4 separate regions of the Homo sapiens genome follow, and regions 2, 3 and 4 are each linked to region 1. The links are contacts of gene promoters, found by promoter capture Hi-C in blood cells and fetal thymus (Javierre and others, 2016). All regions are on one chromosome and are shown on one strand. Each heading gives the region's core, a stretch centred on a gene start or on the middle of the fragment in contact. The rest is flanking DNA. Distances are from core to core; before and after follow the strand shown. Region 1 holds the start of SP9 (Sp9 transcription factor). Region 2 holds the start of DLX1 (distal-less homeobox 1). Region 3 overlaps METAP1D (methionyl aminopeptidase type 1D, mitochondrial). Region 4 overlaps DLX2-DT (DLX2 divergent transcript).

Region 1 (4,269 bases), core at 703-3,202:
TTCTCTTCTCCTCTGTTCCTTCTCTTTCTCTGTCATAATTTCCTTGGTGCTTTCGCCACCTTAAACAAAAAAGAGAAAAAAATAAAATAAAAAAAACCCATTCTGAGCCAAAGTATTTTAAGATGAATCCAAGAAAGCGACCCACATAGCCCTCCCCACCCACGGAGTGCGCCAAGACGCACCCAGGCTCCATCACAGGGCCGAGAGCAGCGCCACTCTGGTCGTACTTTTGGGTCAAGAGATCTTGCAAAAGAGGAGAGAAAACACGGGAGGCACAGTTCCACATCCTTGTCACTTGCACCGGCTCCGCGACAACTCGTCGTTTGCACCCGAGGGTTTGGGGTTGGTAGTTTAATTTTTTTTTTTTCCTAAGAAGCAGGGTGTGGGTTTAGTGGGGAGTGTGCTATATTAAAACCAGTGCCCAGGTCTGCCCGAGGGCGCTGGTATTTCTGGTTCAAAAACAGCTTCTGGCTACCCTGGAGAAGAAAGAGAAAGCGGGGCCCAGAAAGAGAAAAACAAGCAGGTCAGCGGTTGCTGGGGGACTCGAAGACGCACCCTGGTCTGCTTGAGGACGCCTCTTTTCACACTGACAAGGTCCAGGGAGGACTTCAGGATGCTTCCAGCCTGCAAAATGTGGAAGCGCCCACGTGTGGCCTGGTCCTCCGCCCTCCCGGGTGAAAGTCCTGGAGAGATTTCTCGGGCGCGTCCGTGAAAGCAGGGCACTAATGGGGAGCCTACCTCTTAAAACAGCGCACTTGCCCTACGGACGAGCCTCTAGGCCCTGGTGGTCTGGAATGGGAGTGGGTTGGAGCTGGGACAAGAAAACTCCACTCCAGGATGAAACGCGACATGCAAATCTTCACCGGGTTAAACAAACAGCCGAGCAAGCTGCAGCTTCAGCGGAGGTGGAGGTGGGGGCGGACGCCGCTCGCGCCGGTCTCTGTTTCCAAAGTTGTTACAGTGAGAAAATAAGCGGCTTCGTGCAGCGTGTTGTATGGGCTGATGCCTCCCACCCCCATGCCAGCCCACAGCAAAACCCGGCAGATAATCAGCACATCCCACTGTTTAGTCATATTTGACAACTGGGTTAACCTGGTATCTAAGCGCTGGCGAAACCGTACAAAGGGTGCCCTCAATTACCACCAGAAGCCTCTAGCGTGAGTGGCACTTGTATTACCCCCCGGGTCAGAGGCCAGAGCGACAATTAGGAAGTCACTTACACCGCTGGGGGGAAATGGCGGGATGCAGCAGGCTCCAGGCCCTCCCAACAAATCTGTGGATGTAGATCTGTACAGAGAGGCCTATTTCGCTCCTCTCGGAGGAGCTGTCCCTTCGCGCCCCCTCCCCAGTATAACTGTGAGAGTGAAATTGAATCTAGTGGAATAAGGAATTGGGTAGAAGACACACGAAAATGATAAAAATCACAAGCAAGAATGATAGATACAAGCTGAAGTTGTGTTCTGTAGGCAAAAGCCTGGACACACAAAGTGAGGGCTCACATTTCCGTCTCCACTTGGGCCCTGCTGGTGCGGGCTGTGTCTGGGTGTCTCCTCCCCTCCTGCCTCCTTTCCTACAAGTGGGGAGTCGAGTAGGACTGTCAGCCCTAACTTGCAACATCTCGGGGTGGTTTGTGTGTGGGGGGGTGCTTGTGGCTCGGTTTCATTGGTACTTAAACCTGGCTTGGTGCGTGAGTGTAAATTTTTAATTGCACTGTAATTTCTTCAGTCCCCAGCCCGCCCTCGCCCCCCCCCCGCAAGTATCCCCCACTACTCCCCCCCACCCCCGCGGCCCTAGCTAGCTGACTTGACTGGCACGCGCCGGGAGCCCGGGCTCGGGCCCCTCGGAGCGTCTGATTGGCTGCGGGGCAGCTCCGGTCTGCTCTGCCTGCGCCCTCATTGGGCGAGAGGCGCAGCCAGCGGCACTTCAAAGCGGGTGCTCCTCGCACTTAGGCTGAGTTTAGCCGGCGGGAGCCTGGAGTCCGCTCGGCACGAGCGCGGGGACGCGGGAGCCGCGCGGGACCCAAGCAGTTTTTCCGAGCAGCCGCCAGGCTCAGCCCCGCTCCCAGCCTCGCTGCGCAGCCAGAGACCTGCTATGGCCACGTCTATACTCGGGGTAAGTCGCAAGCGCGGCAACGCATTTGCTTGTTTTAACCGGAGTAATTTTTCGTTATGGCTTCTGGGGTCTGCGGCTCCGGAGAAACTGTTGCTGCTAGACTGCAGCTTCAGCTTCTATTAGCACTTTCCACATTTCTGGGACTGATTTTTCCCCAAGTTTTTGGAACCCAGAAAGATGCCTTTGCAAGAAAAGGCCTTCTTAATCAAGTCCTTTTTCATTTGGTTTCAAAAAAAAGCTAGAGGTTTCTTTTCTTCCCCTCGTGATTTATACCCCATCCCCCGCATTGCTTTGGGGATTTTGTTGCAATTATGCGACAATGGTGTTTCCAGAAAACAGTCTTAATCGTTTTGCAGTCCATCTAGTCACGCTAATAAACATTTACATTTCCGCGGCTCCCCAATTCGCCCATGACTTTGAAATCTGTCTCTGGCCGCTTATCCTCGGATTATTGTTTTCATAATCGCTGTTTTTGTGTGTATGTAAACTTTAAAACCAAACGTTTTCTATTAAAAAAGAAAAGTCAAGTCGTAGCCACCCTGGGAGAGCTGCAAGTTTCGCCCGTCCCTGGCAGCTGTTTCGGCCGCCTCCGCCCTCACCCGGTGTTTGTTGTCTCTGGTCTCTGTGTTTACCTTCGCGCTTCACCCCGAAGGGCGACTTGGGGTCTTCTGGGAGATGAGCCGGTTTACGGCGACAACCCAAGTCCGGTTGTAGGCAGGGTTGCAGCGGGGAACACGGAGGCATCTTTGATTTATAGCCTCAGCGAAGTGCAACTTTCCGGCGCCTGGACCTTCGCCCGGGTGATCGCCCCTGCTCCGCGCCCGGTGCGGCGACTCCTCCGCGGGCGCGTGGGGAGGAGGCGCGAGGCGGGGAGCCAGGACCCCCCGGGAGCAGCCGCAGGGGACGAGGCTGCTCACGGGTGCACTTTGTTTCTTCCCCCACTTCCTCTTGCCCTCCTCCTTCTTGCTCCCTCCCCCATCCCACCCACTCTAGGAAGAGCCGCGCTTCGGAACGACCCCGTTGGCCATGCTGGCGGCGACCTGCAACAAGATCGGCAACACGAGCCCGCTGACGACGCTGCCAGAGTCGAGCGCCTTCGCCAAAGGCGGCTTTCACCCCTGGAAGCGCTCCTCGTCCAGCTGCAACCTCGGCTCCAGCCTCTCGGGCTTCGCGGTGGCCACCGGGGGCCGTGGCTCGGGCGGCCTGGCGGGCGGCTCGGGCGCCGCCAACAGCGCCTTCTGCCTGGCCTCCACGTCGCCCACGTCGTCCGCCTTCAGCAGCGACTACGGCGGCCTCTTCTCCAACTCGGCGGCTGCCGCGGCGGCAGCGGCCGGGGTGTCCCCGCAGGAGGCGGGTGGCCAGTCGGCCTTCATTTCCAAGGTGCACACGACGGCAGCCGACGGGCTGTACCCGCGCGTGGGCATGGCGCACCCGTACGAGTCCTGGTACAAGTCGGGCTTCCATTCGACGCTGGCGGCCGGCGAGGTGACCAACGGCGCGGCGTCGTCGTGGTGGGACGTGCACAGCAGCCCGGGCTCGTGGCTGGAAGTGCAGAACCCCGCTGGGGGGCTCCAGAGCTCGCTGCACTCGGGCGCCCCCCAGGCCTCGCTGCACTCGCAGCTGGGCACCTACAACCCCGACTTCAGCTCGCTCACGCACTCCGCCTTCAGCTCCACGGGCCTCGGCTCCTCCGCCGCCGCCGCCTCCCACCTGCTCTCCACCAGCCAGCACCTGCTGGCCCAGGACGGCTTCAAGCCGGTGTTGCCCTCCTATTCGGACTCCAGCGCCGCCGTGGCAGCCGCCGCCGCCAGCGCCATGATATCGGGCGCCGCGGCTGCCGCCGCCGGGGGGAGCTCGGCACGCTCTGCCCGCCGCTACTCGGGCCGCGCCACCTGCGACTGCCCCAACTGCCAGGAGGCGGAGCGGCTGGGCCCGGCCGGGGCGAGCCTGCGGCGCAAGGGCCTGCACAGCTGCCACATTCCGGGCTGCGGCAAGGTGTACGGGAAGACGTCGCACCTGAAGGCGCACCTGCGCTGGCACACGGGCGAGCGGCCCTTCGTGTGCAACTGGCTCTTCTGCGGCAAGCGCTTCACGCGCTCGGACGAGCTGCAGCGGCATCTGCGGACTCACACGGGCGAGAAGCGCTTCGCCTGTCCG
Region 2 (4,682 bases), core at 924-3,423, 2.2 Mb before region 1:
TTGTGCTTCCTGCCCGGCGCGCTCTGTTGCAGAGGAGCCCCGGCCGGGAAGTGTGGATGCGTCTTACCCGAGGCCGGGCCGCCTCGCCCGCTCTAGTCCAGCGGAGCCCGAGCGCCTCGGACCAATCCCCAGTGATTATGCAAGACAGCGGACCAATCAGCTCCGCCAGCTCATGAATATTTATGACCTTCGCTGAGTCAAAGCTTTGAACCGAGTTTGGGGAGCTCAGCAGCATCATGCTTAGACTTTTCAAAGAGACAAACTCCATTTTCTTATGAATGGAAAGTGAAAACCCCTGTTCCGCTTAAATTGGGTTCCTTCCTGTCCTGAGAAACATAGAGACCCCCAAAAGGGAAGCAGAGGAGAGAAAGTCCCACACCCAGACCCCGCGAGAAGAGATGACCATGACCACCATGCCAGAAAGTCTCAACAGCCCCGTGTCGGGCAAGGCGGTGTTTATGGAGTTTGGGCCGCCCAACCAGCAAATGTCTCCTTCTCCCATGTCCCACGGGCACTACTCCATGCACTGTTTACACTCGGCGGGCCATTCGCAGCCCGACGGCGCCTACAGCTCAGCCTCGTCCTTCTCCCGACCGCTGGGCTACCCCTACGTCAACTCGGTCAGCAGCCACGCATCCAGCCCCTACATCAGTTCGGTGCAGTCCTACCCGGGCAGCGCCAGCCTCGCCCAGAGCCGCCTGGAGGACCCAGGTACGTGCGCTTGCCAGGGAGAGGGAGAGGAGGAGGTACAAGGGAGAGAGGGAAAGAAGGAGCGGGGGAGAAGAGGAGAGGGAGAGAGAGAGAAAGAGAAGAGAGGAGAGCGAGGTGGGGTGGGGGTGGGGAGGGCGCGGGAGCAGTGGAGGTTTCGAATATCAATCTATAGATCCTTGTCACAGCAAATAAATTTTTTTAAAAATTCCCTCAATTTGCAACTATCCAGCCAAGGATAAATCCCAGAGCGTCTCCTGGCACTGGCTGGGCCTCTGGGCGGCTCGGTGTGCAGAGCACACAATGCCCCGCTGGAAAACAGAAACCCACATGTGCACGTATTAGTCTCGGTAATTATTTATTGCGTAGCGCTATAAACAATGTATGCAATTAAGGGTAATTAAACCTCAACTACCGCCTGCAAAAATAGCAAACTTTCCCTGCAAAGGCAGGAGCTGAGCTCCTGGGAACGGCTCTATCCCTCCTGCAGCGTCCCGGGACAGGCCCTCGGATTTTGGGGGACCCTTCCCTGGCTTTCAGAGTTTCTTGAACGTTCTCTCCCTGGTGCTGCCTCCGCCACCCTTCGGTAGCCACTCGCTCTCGGCTGTTCGCACTAAAGGCGGCCCCTCGTATTAACAACGGGCCCTACTTCTGCTGTCCCTCCAGGGGCGGACTCGGAGAAGAGCACGGTGGTGGAAGGCGGTGAAGTGCGCTTCAATGGCAAGGGAAAAAAGATCCGTAAACCCAGGACGATTTATTCCAGTTTGCAGTTGCAGGCTTTGAACCGGAGGTTCCAGCAAACTCAGTACCTAGCTCTGCCGGAGAGGGCGGAGCTCGCGGCCTCTTTGGGACTCACACAGACTCAGGTACCTCGCCGCTGCCGCTCCGTTCTGCCACGCAGGCTTTCCGCGGCCGGCCTGCGCCCGGGTCTTCATTTGTTGCTCGCTGGGACTCAGGGTCGGGGTGTCACTGTGTGTATGTGTTTGTGTCCACCCCTGGCTCTCAGCGTGTCTCCTTCCTCCCTCATTCCCTCTGCCCTAGCTCTGTCACTGCTCTCGGTATCCCGAGCTGCCTGCCGTCCGGCCCTCTGTCCCTGGACAATCTGATTAGGGCGCAGGAAGGATTTCCCCAGACGATTTGTTTGGGAACTCAGAGGTCACACGTGCCTAAACAACTGGAACAATAGACTCCGGGCTTAATCCCTCCTTTGCCTTTAAATTGTGTGACTAATCACTCGGGGCCTGGGTCCGCGCCTCAGCCTCCCTCCTCCTCCTCCTTCTTACCGGTTGGGGGTGGGGGGAGATCCTTTCCTCCGCCCTCTCACCTCTCAAGTCCCAGACCTTAGAGAAGAAACGGGACCTTCCTTCCCGGCTTTCTGTAAGACTCCGGGGAGCCCGTGAGCGTTCCTGACGGCGGCGGGCGCGGGTTTCCGACGTCCGGTCCGGGATTTGGAGCAGAGCTGGAGAAAGCAAACAGACACTAGTGCAAGAATGGTTTTGAATCCAAAGAGAAGTTCAGCAAAACCTTGAGGCCTCCTTAGTCCGTCCCAACTCAAGGGCAGAAAAGATGGCGCATAGAAAAGTTGGGTCGCGTTGCAAATAAATTTCCTCCACTCCTTCCTAGGTTTTCGATTCTTTTTATTGATGTTGATATTGGAATTGCTGGCTCGGTGTTATGCAGGCGCTGTATCTTCCGCAGGCGGTAGCCACGGTCGGACTGAGCCCCTGGCAGGCTAAGGCCTGGATCCCGGTTCTCCCCTCATCACAACTCCTCCCTGGCTCTCTGAGAGCTGCCCCCGTGGGCTGACGGCGGCGGGAGGTTCGGCCTTCGAGCCTTTGGCTCTTATGGGGGAAGGGAGGAAGGAGGGATGTCTCTGCTTCTCTGGCAGGGAGCTGCCAGCTGGCGCAGGGTTGGGAGGTCCTATCTCTGCTGTTCTGCGGTCCCTTTTTTCCTCCCTGTGACCTAGGTAGGCTCAGTGGTCCCAGCCTGAGTCACGTTGTTGTCCGCTCTTGCAGGTCAAGATCTGGTTCCAAAACAAGCGATCCAAGTTCAAGAAGCTGATGAAGCAGGGTGGGGCGGCTCTGGAGGGTAGTGCGTTGGCCAACGGTCGGGCCCTGTCTGCTGGCTCCCCACCCGTGCCGCCCGGCTGGAACCCTAACTCTTCATCCGGGAAGGGCTCAGGAGGAAACGCGGGCTCCTATATCCCCAGCTACACATCGTGGTACCCTTCAGCGCACCAAGAAGCTATGCAGCAACCCCAACTTATGTGAGGTTGCCCGCCCGTCTCCTTCTTGTCTCCCCGGCCCAGGTCCCTCCCGCCTCCAGGTCCATCCATCCCGTCCGGAAAAGAAGGACCCAGAGGGAAGAAGGAACAGTGGAGGCGGGACGCCCTCCATCTCCTCGGAGCCCCGCGAGGTCCGGCCCAGCAACTTCCCGGCATCCGCGCTCTAGCCTGAACCCTGGCCTGGGCCGAGCAGTGGCAGCAGAGAGTGGCCTCGGAGGGAAGCCACTGCCACCTGAGACAGCCCAAGCAGCAAGATAAACCCGCTCCACCCGACCCGCCGACCTTCAGCTTTGTGGGACTATCAGGAAAAAACAAAACAAAAACAAAATGTAGAAAAAGCAAAAGCTCTTTTCTGTCCTGTCAGTCTCCTGTCTCCTTTTGCTCTGTCTGTGCGCTGGTAAAGTCCAGGTCCTCATCCGTCCGCTGTCCTCATTCTGCGGCCTCAGCAAAAAGCCACAAGGTCTGAGCGGCCCGGGTCCTGCCGGGCTGACCATCTCCGGATCCTGGGACACTCTGCCTGACCATCTGTGTAGCTGGTGTGGGAATCTGGGGGCATTGGAGGGAGGGGGTTTTATTTATTGAGAAATGGACTTCGCCTGAGGCTGTTTGCCAATTCAGGGTTCTGCTGGGCGCAAGGAACGCACTGTTCAAACGCACTGTTTACTTTAAGCGCACGGGGAGAAACGAATAAGGAGGACGTGGTGATTTTTAATTTATACAGTAACTTTTGTACTTCTCTGGTATGGAGAGTTTGGAGCCGAATGATTTGCATTTTTTACATGTCCGACATTATTTAATAAATAATTTTTAAAAGAAAAGAACGATAAATGAAGCCAACATGATTTTCTCATTTCGGGAGGAACTCTGTTGCTTCGCCTGGACAAGAAGGAAAATGCTGATTTCCTCCTTGGGTAGAAAGAGGGAGCGAGGGCAAATGGGGAGTAGAGAGAAAACAGGCGAGAACAAGCACTCTAATTCCAGTGGGCTTTAAAATAAGACAAAATCAGCTTTACAACAATCCCTAGAGGCTCGACCACAGAATAATGCCAGTCACCACCCTGAACGCACAATCTCCAGTGCAGGATCTAATGACTGTACATATTATTGTTATTATTATTATTGTTATTATTGTTGTTCTGTAAACATGTTGCACAAGCTTAGCCTTTTTGCGTTCTGTTGTGTGTGGCTGTAAAACCCCATGCTTTGTGAAATGAGAATCTTGACATTTTTCTTGTGAAATTTGGAAAATGTGATCAATTGAAATCAACTGTGTTTTGTGTTCTCTATGTCAAAGTTTAGTTTTATATTGAGAATGTTAACTTATTGCTTTGTATCTTGGGAAAAAAACTTTGTAAATAAGTTATAAAGTTTCTTTGAGACAGTAAAATTATGATTTCTTGAAAGAACTGCTCTCTTGTGCTGTGTGAGGCTGTGCCAGGGGGCCAGGCCAGGTTCCCGCCTCTGGAGACAGTTCATACAGGGTCAGCGACTTATCAACTTATCGGTGATAGAATGGAGACCCTGTACCCCAGAAACACCAGGGTATCGTCAGAGGCCTGTGAGGTGCCCCATTGGGCTTTTTCTTCCTGCCTTGCTCCATTGACCCCCAAGGTGTCTGATTCCTACCTGAATTGGAAGGGTAAGGAGAGAATGCCTGGCGAGGGTTCCCCAGGAAGGGGGCTCAGGAACA
Region 3 (4,194 bases), core at 511-3,010, 2.3 Mb before region 1:
ATGAAATCGTATTTTGTATTTTGAAATAGTATTCTTGTATTTTGAATGAAATATAAGAATATAAAAATTTGAATTTTTGAACGAAATCAGCATAGTCTTCCCTACTGTTTCCAATGTGTCCAAAGAGAATACTCTATTCCTTTTCTAAGTTTCCTGAAGACTTTTAATAGTTTCATTATTAACATTCAAACTATTTCAAAATTGTAAAACCTATGAAGCAAAGTGAAATACTGCCAAGTGTATAAAATAAAAACTCATACTTTCCTGGATTGCAAAGGACTGTAAGTGGGAGTAAATGTATAAAACACTATTCTGTTGCAAGGTAATTAAGATAATTTGATATAGTAGAGAAAACACTCGATTAGAAGCCAATAATCCATCATATTAACCTGAATCTACCTCTATATTCTGCCACCAACCTTAAACAAGTTACTTATCTGTGCCTCAGTTTCCTGAATTATAAACTGAAGATCTAATAAAGACCTTTCTTGCTTCCTTCACAGAATATGAGAGCATTTTTTAAGAAATGCAGAGTAGTATACAGATTTAAGACATTAATTCAGTATCACAACAGACTGAAAGCTCATATAAACATCTTTTTTATAACAGTTTCTACATTCTACCTTATGAGCAAGAGAAATGTGAAAAATAATTAGATAGGACAAATTTATGCAAAGTAGCAAATTCCATGCTACATCAAAGGATCAGTATCCAAACAGTTGCCTCTGCCTTTTATATTTACTATAGTGCTTGGTTATCAATGATTTATAATGAATCTGGTATCTTTCAAGATCCTACTTGGCTTCTGAATCACTGAAGACTGATAAAATTATACTTTCTGTAATTGTGCTTTTAAGCTTGTTTTATTATATTCTAATTCTTTAGATATCCATATATAGTGCTTTCTGTTAACGTTCGGCTGTCTGGAACATTTGATTAAGATTTCACTTCTAGACATAGGATTTTTCTGTAACACATTTCATTCCTATATGGAACCACTTCAATTCTTAGAACTGAATTCTCCTATTTGTTTGTTAGAATACAGACATGTCTATCTTACTTCTTCTTGTCATTATATATCACTTCAAATGTAGAACTGGTAAATACAAAATCAAGTAAGTCTTCATGACATTGAAGAAACTTTTCACTATGTTAAATACTTTTTGGTTCTCTAAACCTGTTGTGGTAATTGTAGATCAAGGTCTTTGGCTACTAATTTTTGCTTATATAATTTTGTCTTCTCAGAAATAAAGTGAGGAATCAAAATATTACAGTAGTATTGTTCATCATAATGCTGAAATAACCATACTAGTTAACATAGTTGTTTTTAAATTTTGCAATATCATTGCATGGCTTCATCTTTTAAATTTCTGCAAGGTTTCAATATATCTATTTCTTCTTTTTTTGATAGGCAAATGAATAATTCTGGAAGGGTAAAACATGAGTCTACTAAATACATAAATGAATACAATGTATACTTTAGGAAAGTAGATTTTTAAACAAGGACATATTTTTAAATTTCTGCTTATGTTTAGGTCTATTACAATGGCTACCATGGAGACACCTCTGAAACATTTTTGGTGGGCAATGTGGACGAATGTGGTAAAAAGTTAGTGGAGGTTGCCAGGAGGTGTAGAGATGAAGCAATTGCAGCTTGCAGAGCAGGGGCTCCCTTCTCTGTAATTGGAAACACAATCAGGTAAGCCTTACATTGACAAGTAAAGGGAGGGTTGGCAAATGGTACAAAGGTTATTGGTGGCTTGGTATAAAGTTGATGACATGTTTTATGATTCAGAACCATCATTTCAGTCTGATATCAGTATGTGAACTGCCAGGCTGCAATATTGTTCCCTGAGTTGAAAAAAAAAAAAGATTTTATAAAAATGAATTATACCAGGGTCAGCAAAGAAACTTATAGAAGGAGCAAGCAATATTTACATGGCTGCTTTTGTTTTAGCTTGACATACTGGTCTATAGTTTCCCTTTATTCAAAATCACACCAAATATGGAAGGGAGTACCTAAGAAGGGGATGAGCATCTCAACCCTGGGGTTTTTAATAAGACAGGAGAAAAACTAAATTTTATAAAGGAATGAAGTGAAATGTATTTCTGTGATATGAAGATAATAAAGTGTTAGTTCAAGCAAGCCTTACCTTTCAAATTGGTAGATTAACAAATAGCCTGAAACGGTGATCTTCTGTTCTTTTTTTGTCTGGTTCATTTTTCCTGTAAACCGTTGTTTATTTTTCACAGAGTATTCTATCCTTACTTTTTGAATGTATGTGTATGTGTGTTTTCTGAATTTAAGACTTTTCTTTATAATCTGTTACCTACTTTTAGGTCTTTTTTCCCCCATAACTGTTTTGAAGTAGACATGCCGAATATATGTTTTCATTTTAAAGTAATGCATTCTGTTAAAGATGATCACATCAGTGCCCTTTAAAGTACTGTTCTCATTAATATGAACCATTGAATACTTCCCATTTGTCTAAAGGATGGAAGGCTTAGTCACCTTGAAAAGATGCTGCCTTTTTTTCTTCGTAAGCCTTCAAATACTTTAAGAAAAAAGCCAGTAAAATATCAGTTAAATGTATTTATGGCTTTAAAAATATTGTAACAGTGTCTGAATCAAACTTTAGTAAAATCTCTTTGGGTTATATCTGAGAAGCTTTTATTGAAGACTTTGAACAAAATTGTGTTTTTGACAGTTTTAAATTATAGGCTAACTAGCCTGGGAAAAAAGGATAGTGTCTCTCTGTTCTTTCATAGGAAATGTTGAATCAGACCCCTACTGGGAAAAGAAATTTAATGCATATCTCACTATCTTACTGTCCATGAATATAATAGAAATGAATTCAAAATGCAGTTTTATTTTTGCAAATGGGATGAGTCGATAGATGCACCTCATATTTTTGAACACCTAGGGTTCAACAAATTTACTGGTGGTGCTCTTGCATTTTAACAAAATTTATTCTTCAGTAGAAGGGGGCAGAGAACACTAGATTCTTATTCAAGCATTCTATCGAGCTCTGCATTCATGGCTGTGTCTAAAGGGCATGTCAGCCTTTGATTCTCTCTGAGAGGTAATTATCCTTTTCCTGTCACGGAACAACAAATGATAGCTAACTACAGAGGCACATTTGCAGTAGTCACATTCATCAACTGCAGAAAAAAAAATTCAATTTAATTGTGCAACACAGCTGCACATGGGCTTTTGAGCATTTCTGTTGTTCTCCCTGTCTCGCTATTCCTCCCTCCAGATCTATTTTTTAAACTTTTTTTCTGGTTATTTTTTCCCCTTTTTGTCTCTTCTTCCATTTTTACTCTCTGTACTTTCTTGTTAAAGTAATTTTCCTTTGTGGCTCTCATTCTTTTTCCCCCATTGAAGGCTATGAATGTAGAAAATTATCACAATTACTCATATAATTGAGCCTCTTTGTAGCAAGTGCAACTCCAGTAGCCTTTCTCCATCATGAAAATGGTTTCATTATAGGGTTTTTCATATTCTCTGACACCATCTACACAGAGGAACAGGCGTGCAGATGAGATGTGCTAGGAACAGGCTAGATCAGTAAGGTCACAGTAGGAATAATTAGCTCTGCTATGGAAAGAGCATCTAGGCCTTTTACTGCTACATAAATGTACTGTCCATGGCTTTTAGTCACAAAAAAAACTTACTAACAAATGGAGCTCCCGCCTACTACTTTGAAAAAAAGATTTGTATCAACACTACAATTTTCCATCATTAAGACTAATAACACAGAGCCTAGTATACATCAAGGGGAATAAAAAGAAAAATCTCACATTCAAGTGGCGGCTGGGTGCTGACCTTTGTTCCCTTTTTTTGTGTACGACTTAACTCTTTACAAAAAAGAGCCACACGCCACACCAACATGCAGGTGAACTCCAGCTAGTACTAGCAAAGCATAGCATTCAGTTGGAAAATTTGATAAATCTCCATGCAGGATAATGCATTTCATTACATATTCACTACATTAATTCTAGCTACATTAAAAAAAAAAGAAGAAGAAGAAGAAGAGTAGAATTGAAAGTGACATTGGATTTTAGCTATCTGGATACAAAGGTCAGTTTTCACAGAGTATGAATTTGCATGTACAAGCTTTTTTGAAAACCAGATCAGTCAGTCCCAACAACTGCACTTAAAAAAACTATGTGGAAAATAACAGACAATGA
Region 4 (4,321 bases), core at 968-3,467, 2.2 Mb before region 1:
TGTGCTTCGTCGTTTGCATCTGTGGAATGCAGGTGATACTGAGCTCTTCCTTGTGGGATTATTGCCTGGAAATACACCATTATAGGTTCATCGCCGCCAGGTTTACCGCGACACTCGGCGTTCTCGGGCCTCAGCGGAATGGGTTTTAAACCGCGGAGGGAGGCCCAGGCGGAGAGGGTGTAGGCCCACTTTTCTCACTCGTGTCTAAGCAGGCCTTGTCCTGGCGGCAGCCAAGGTGAAGGCAGACGCTGTTTCCGGGATCCAGTGGACCAGGCCAGGCCAGGGGATTTGGGCGTGGGCCTCCGAGGCGGCAGTGGGTGGTCCAGGGGCATTGTGAAGCCGTCAGGCACTGTGGATGGGGAAGTGCAGGGCCCGCCTGCAGCACTGAAGTTTGGAAAGGCCAAATACTGCTCCTAACCCGTGCGGCAAGGACTGCCCCATTCAGTAAGCGGGGCAAAGTCCCGCCTTGACAAGCCTCTCTGTAGTTTCCCTGTGTGCTACACCTGGGCTGCTTCTGCTCGCTTCTTTGAAAATGGAGAGGGGAGCAGAGGGAAGAACCTTGCAGGTTATTCACAGGGAACTGACCCTAGGCAGTCATGTCAGATTGTTTGCATGTACTTGTGCACGCGTTTTCAAATGCATAAAACCCTGTGCATGTTTCAAATGTGTAAACACGTAAGCATTTTTATTTGTATTTCTATTTCTTTTATTTATTTATTTATTTATTTATTTATTTATTTTCTTTTGAGACGGAGTTTCCCTCTTGTTGCCCAGGCTGGAGTGCAGTGGTGCATCTTGGCTCACTGCGACCTCTGCCTTCCAGGTTCAAGTGATTCCCCTGCCTCAGCCTCCCGAGTAGCTGGAATTGCAGGCGCGTGCCACCATGCCCAGCTAATTTTTGTAGTTTTAGTAGAGATAGGGTTTCACCACGTTGGCCAGGCTGGTCTCCAACTCCTGACCTCAAGTGATCCGCCCGCCTCGGCCTCCCAAAGTGCTGGGATTATAGGTGTGAGCCACTGCGACTGGCTAGCATTTTTATTTTTTAGAAATCTTGGCCGGGCGCGGTGGCTCACGCCTGTAATCCCAGCACTTTGGGAGGCCGAGGCGGGCGGATCACGAGGTCAGGAGATCGAGACCATCCTGGCTAACACGGTGAAACCCCGTCTCTACTAAAAATACAAAAAATTAGCCGGGCGAGGTGGCGGGCGCCTGTAGTCCCAGCTACTCGGGAGGCTGAGGCAGGAGAATGGCGTGAACCCCAGGGGGCGGAGCCTGCAGTGAGCCGAGATTGCGCCACTGCACTCCAGCCTGGGCGACAGCGAGACTCCGTCTCAAAAAAAAAAAAAAAAGAAATCTTTTCTTTCTATGTCAGTCGTTACAGAGCAATCATTTTCTTCTTAAGGTGAATGTGTGAGGAAGGTATCATCATTTATTTGACTATCTTCTTTGCCTTGTCATCTAGATGATTTCCGATATTTACAAACAACACATGAGTGAATGTCTTCTGGAGAGCTTTGCCCACATGTTCAATTATATTTGTAAACTAGAATCCTAGTAACTGAATTGTATGTCAACATTTTAATAGCTACCACTAAGCTCCCCTTAAAAAACAAGCAATTTAAGCTCTATACTCATTTCTGAGCACTCTCACCAAGAATATTAGGAATCTTCAGTGTTTTTTGAATATGATAGGCTTAAAATAGTGCCATATTTTAACTTGCAAAGGCTTTACATTAGTAGAGTGTGTGTCTTTTTTATTTTATTTTATTTTAGAGAGGGATGCTCTGCTATATTTTGTCCAGGCTGATCTTGAACTCCTGGGCTCAAGTGATCCTCCTGCCTCAGCCTCCAGAGTAGTTGGGACTACAGGCATGTGCCATCGCATGCTTGGCTTGTGTTTTTATATAGGCATTTTATTTTCTTCTGTGAATTGCCTATTTTTGTTCTCTGCCCATTTTTCTGTTTTTAAAAAATTGATTTACAGGAAATTATTACATATTTTGGAGATTAACTCATTATTGTGTTTATAGTCAATATTAATTCCAAGTTAATTGCTTCTCTTTTACTTTTGTTTATTCTCTTTTCTAGTTCAGAGATTTTAAGTTTTGTATGGTCAAATATGTGACTCTTTTTTTTTTATGGCTTCTGGGCCTTCAGGTCATGATTATAGATGCCAATACTTTTTTTTTTTTTTGAGACGGAGTCTCGCTCTGTCACCCAGGCTGGAGTGCAGTGGCGCGATCTCGGTTCACTGCAACCTCCGCCTCCTGGGTTCATGCCATTCTCCTGCCTCAGCCTCCCAAGTAGCTGGGACTACACGTGCCCGCCATCACACCCGGCTAATTTTTTGTATTTTTAGTAGAGACAGGGTTTTACCATGTTAGCCAGGATGGTCTCAATCTCCTGACCTCGTGATCTGCCCGCCTCGGCCTCCCAAAGTGCTGGGATTACAGGCGTGAGCCACCGCGCCCGGCCTATAGATGCCAATACTTTTAGATGTTAATACTTTTAGAGTTAATATATACAGTGGTTAAAAGTATGGGCTCTGGGCTTAAATCCTAACTTGGCTACTTGCTAACTGTGTAAATTAGGGAAAGTTATTTAACTTTTCTGTGCCTCTGTTTAATGTTTAATTGAACAAAACTTCACTTAGACTACTGAAGGATAGTTGTGGAATGGACCAAGTGTTGTCTCTCAAATCTGATTTTTGGGGAATGCAGCTAAACTACTCCCTAGCCCCCTTTGCACTTATGTGTAACCATGTCATTCAATCCAAGAGAATGGAACATAAGTGGAAGCCATGTGTGCCTCTCCCAGGACAGGACCTTTTAGGCAGAGTTGAGACTCCTCTCTGCTCTCTTTTTCCTTCCGCTGTCTGGAACCAGCTTCAACTATGAAGATGACATGGCCCTAGAGTCTCCTAGAGGCCCTAGGGGACTCACCGCCTAGGGGAATCTTCATCACTTGTTTGGAAGGTTATCTGACCAAGAAATAAACTTACATTTTAAGATACTGACTTTTGGGATTATATATATACACACACACATATATATACACACATATATATATGTACACACACATATATATATCTATACACAAACATATATATATGGCAGCTTATCTACTATAGCTAATACCATGACCTTGAAGTTAGGATGCAATGACTTTGTTAGGAAAAAATTACAGGAAAAAGTCCAGAACATCCTTTATCTGTGAAAACCAGATGAATGGGAAGCCAAGCACAGACCTGAAACCATTTGATTCCTAGGTGCATTCAGTCCATGAATAGAAAGAGGTTAGCATAGCTGGTTGTTATCCTTAGGAACATAAGTCTTTAATGATCATTAGTGGGGTTCTTTCACTTCTAAGCCCAAATCATATGCGTTTCCTTTTAAAGGTGATGGATTGCAGAAATTTTGTCACTGTGCCACATGGGACCCTCCCCTCCATGTCAGTGTCACTCTTGCCTTGGGCACATGCTTATTATGCTTAGGAGTTGTCATGGGGTGATAAGCCAACTTACTACTTTAGTCTTTTTTGGACGACAGTGCCTAGGATAATGGAATGAACAAGGCAAAGGCAGCACAAAGAGAAGAGGTGCTAATAATGAAATAACTTCAAATAGGAAAAAGAAAATTAAAAAAAAAAGGAAACTTCCCACTAAAAGGGCCCAAATGGCTTTCATTTGAGGAAAGTACGCAAACTTAAGTGAATGAACTTTGGGATGTCATTTTGGGCCATTTCAAGACATTGTTTTTGCCTATTTCCCAGTCCTCAGTTGTGTACTCCTTGCTGGTGTTACTACATAGCTAAGTTCTGAATTGATGATATGCTTTGGTTTCATTTAGAACTGAGCACAATTTATCACCACATTCCAGAAAAGATTGAATACTAAGGAGCCACACCAAGTCTTGTGTAAGACAGTGATGACACCCAGTGGTCATTTAGGGTCTTCATCTACATCGACCCAATTCATAGTAAAGCTAACAAATTGCACATATTAGTATACGAAAAGTGCTGTGTGTGTGACAGCCTGTGGGGGAAGGGGCAGCTAGACTTTACAGCTCTGACTGTTGTATCCTTGTAGTTTCATCTTGGGCATTTCTTTTTTTCTTTTTTCCTTTTTTTTTCTTTTTTTGAGACAGAGTCTTGCTCTGTCGCCCAGGCTGGAGTGCAGTGGCGTGATCTCAGCTCATTGCAAACTCCATCTCCCAGGTTCAAGTGATTCTCCTACCTCAGCCTCCCCAGTAGAGTAGCTGGGACTATAGTCCTGCACCACCACACCTGGCTAAATTTTTTATTTTTAGTACAGATGGGGTTT

What was found. The method cuts DNA at HindIII sites, captures the fragments that hold promoters and counts their contacts. A CHiCAGO score of 5 or more calls a contact.
Region 2: a fragment that was not itself captured here is called in contact with the fragment with the promoter of SP9 in region 1 in 10 of 17 cell types (naive B cells, total B cells, total CD4 T cells and 7 more); the score reaches 33.0 in naive B cells.
Region 3: a contact is called between a fragment that was not itself captured here and the fragment with the promoter of SP9 in region 1, in 5 of 17 cell types (naive B cells, total B cells, total CD4 T cells and 2 more). The highest score is 22.0, in naive B cells.
Region 4: a fragment that was not itself captured here is called in contact with the fragment with the promoter of SP9 in region 1 in 2 of 17 cell types (naive B cells and total B cells); the score reaches 17.9 in naive B cells.

Annotation. Positions count from the first base shown.
Region 1 is chr2:174,333,002-174,337,270 of GRCh38, forward strand. SP9 (Sp9 transcription factor) reads left to right here and starts at 1,953. Exons shown (of 2, transcript NM_001145250.2): 1 at 1,953-2,112; 2 at 3,106-4,269. The coding sequence starts at 2,092. LOC102724194 (a long non-coding RNA gene) reads right to left here and starts at 1,975. Exons shown (of 3, transcript XR_427194.5): 1 at 739-1,975; 2 at 556-624; 3 at 1-59. RefSeq lists a silencer at 3,885-4,094. The HindIII fragment of the contact is 13,141 bases long and covers 1-4,269 here.
Region 2 is chr2:172,085,280-172,089,961 of GRCh38, forward strand. It overlaps DLX1 (distal-less homeobox 1), which reads left to right and starts at 228. Exons shown (of 3, transcript NM_178120.5): 1 at 228-711; 2 at 1,375-1,574; 3 at 2,724-4,395. The coding sequence starts at 399. The coding sequence ends at 2,978. RefSeq lists enhancers at 1-487, 337-456, 488-1,099, 1,714-2,325, 2,939-3,550 and a silencer at 1-56. The HindIII fragment of the contact is 3,945 bases long and covers 202-4,146 here.
Region 3 is chr2:172,069,372-172,073,565 of GRCh38, forward strand. It overlaps METAP1D (methionyl aminopeptidase type 1D, mitochondrial), which reads left to right. Exons shown (of 10, transcript NM_199227.3): 6 at 1,536-1,699. Among named protein-coding and RNA genes, the nearest start is that of DLX1, 14 kb to the right of the region's middle. RefSeq lists an enhancer at 2,420-4,150. The HindIII fragment of the contact is 1,811 bases long and covers 856-2,666 here.
Region 4 is chr2:172,109,892-172,114,212 of GRCh38, forward strand. DLX2-DT (DLX2 divergent transcript) reads left to right here. Exons shown (of 5, transcript NR_126376.1): 5 at 1-91. Among named protein-coding and RNA genes, the nearest start is that of DLX2-DT, 9.0 kb to the left of the region's middle. The HindIII fragment of the contact is 7,472 bases long and covers 1-4,321 here.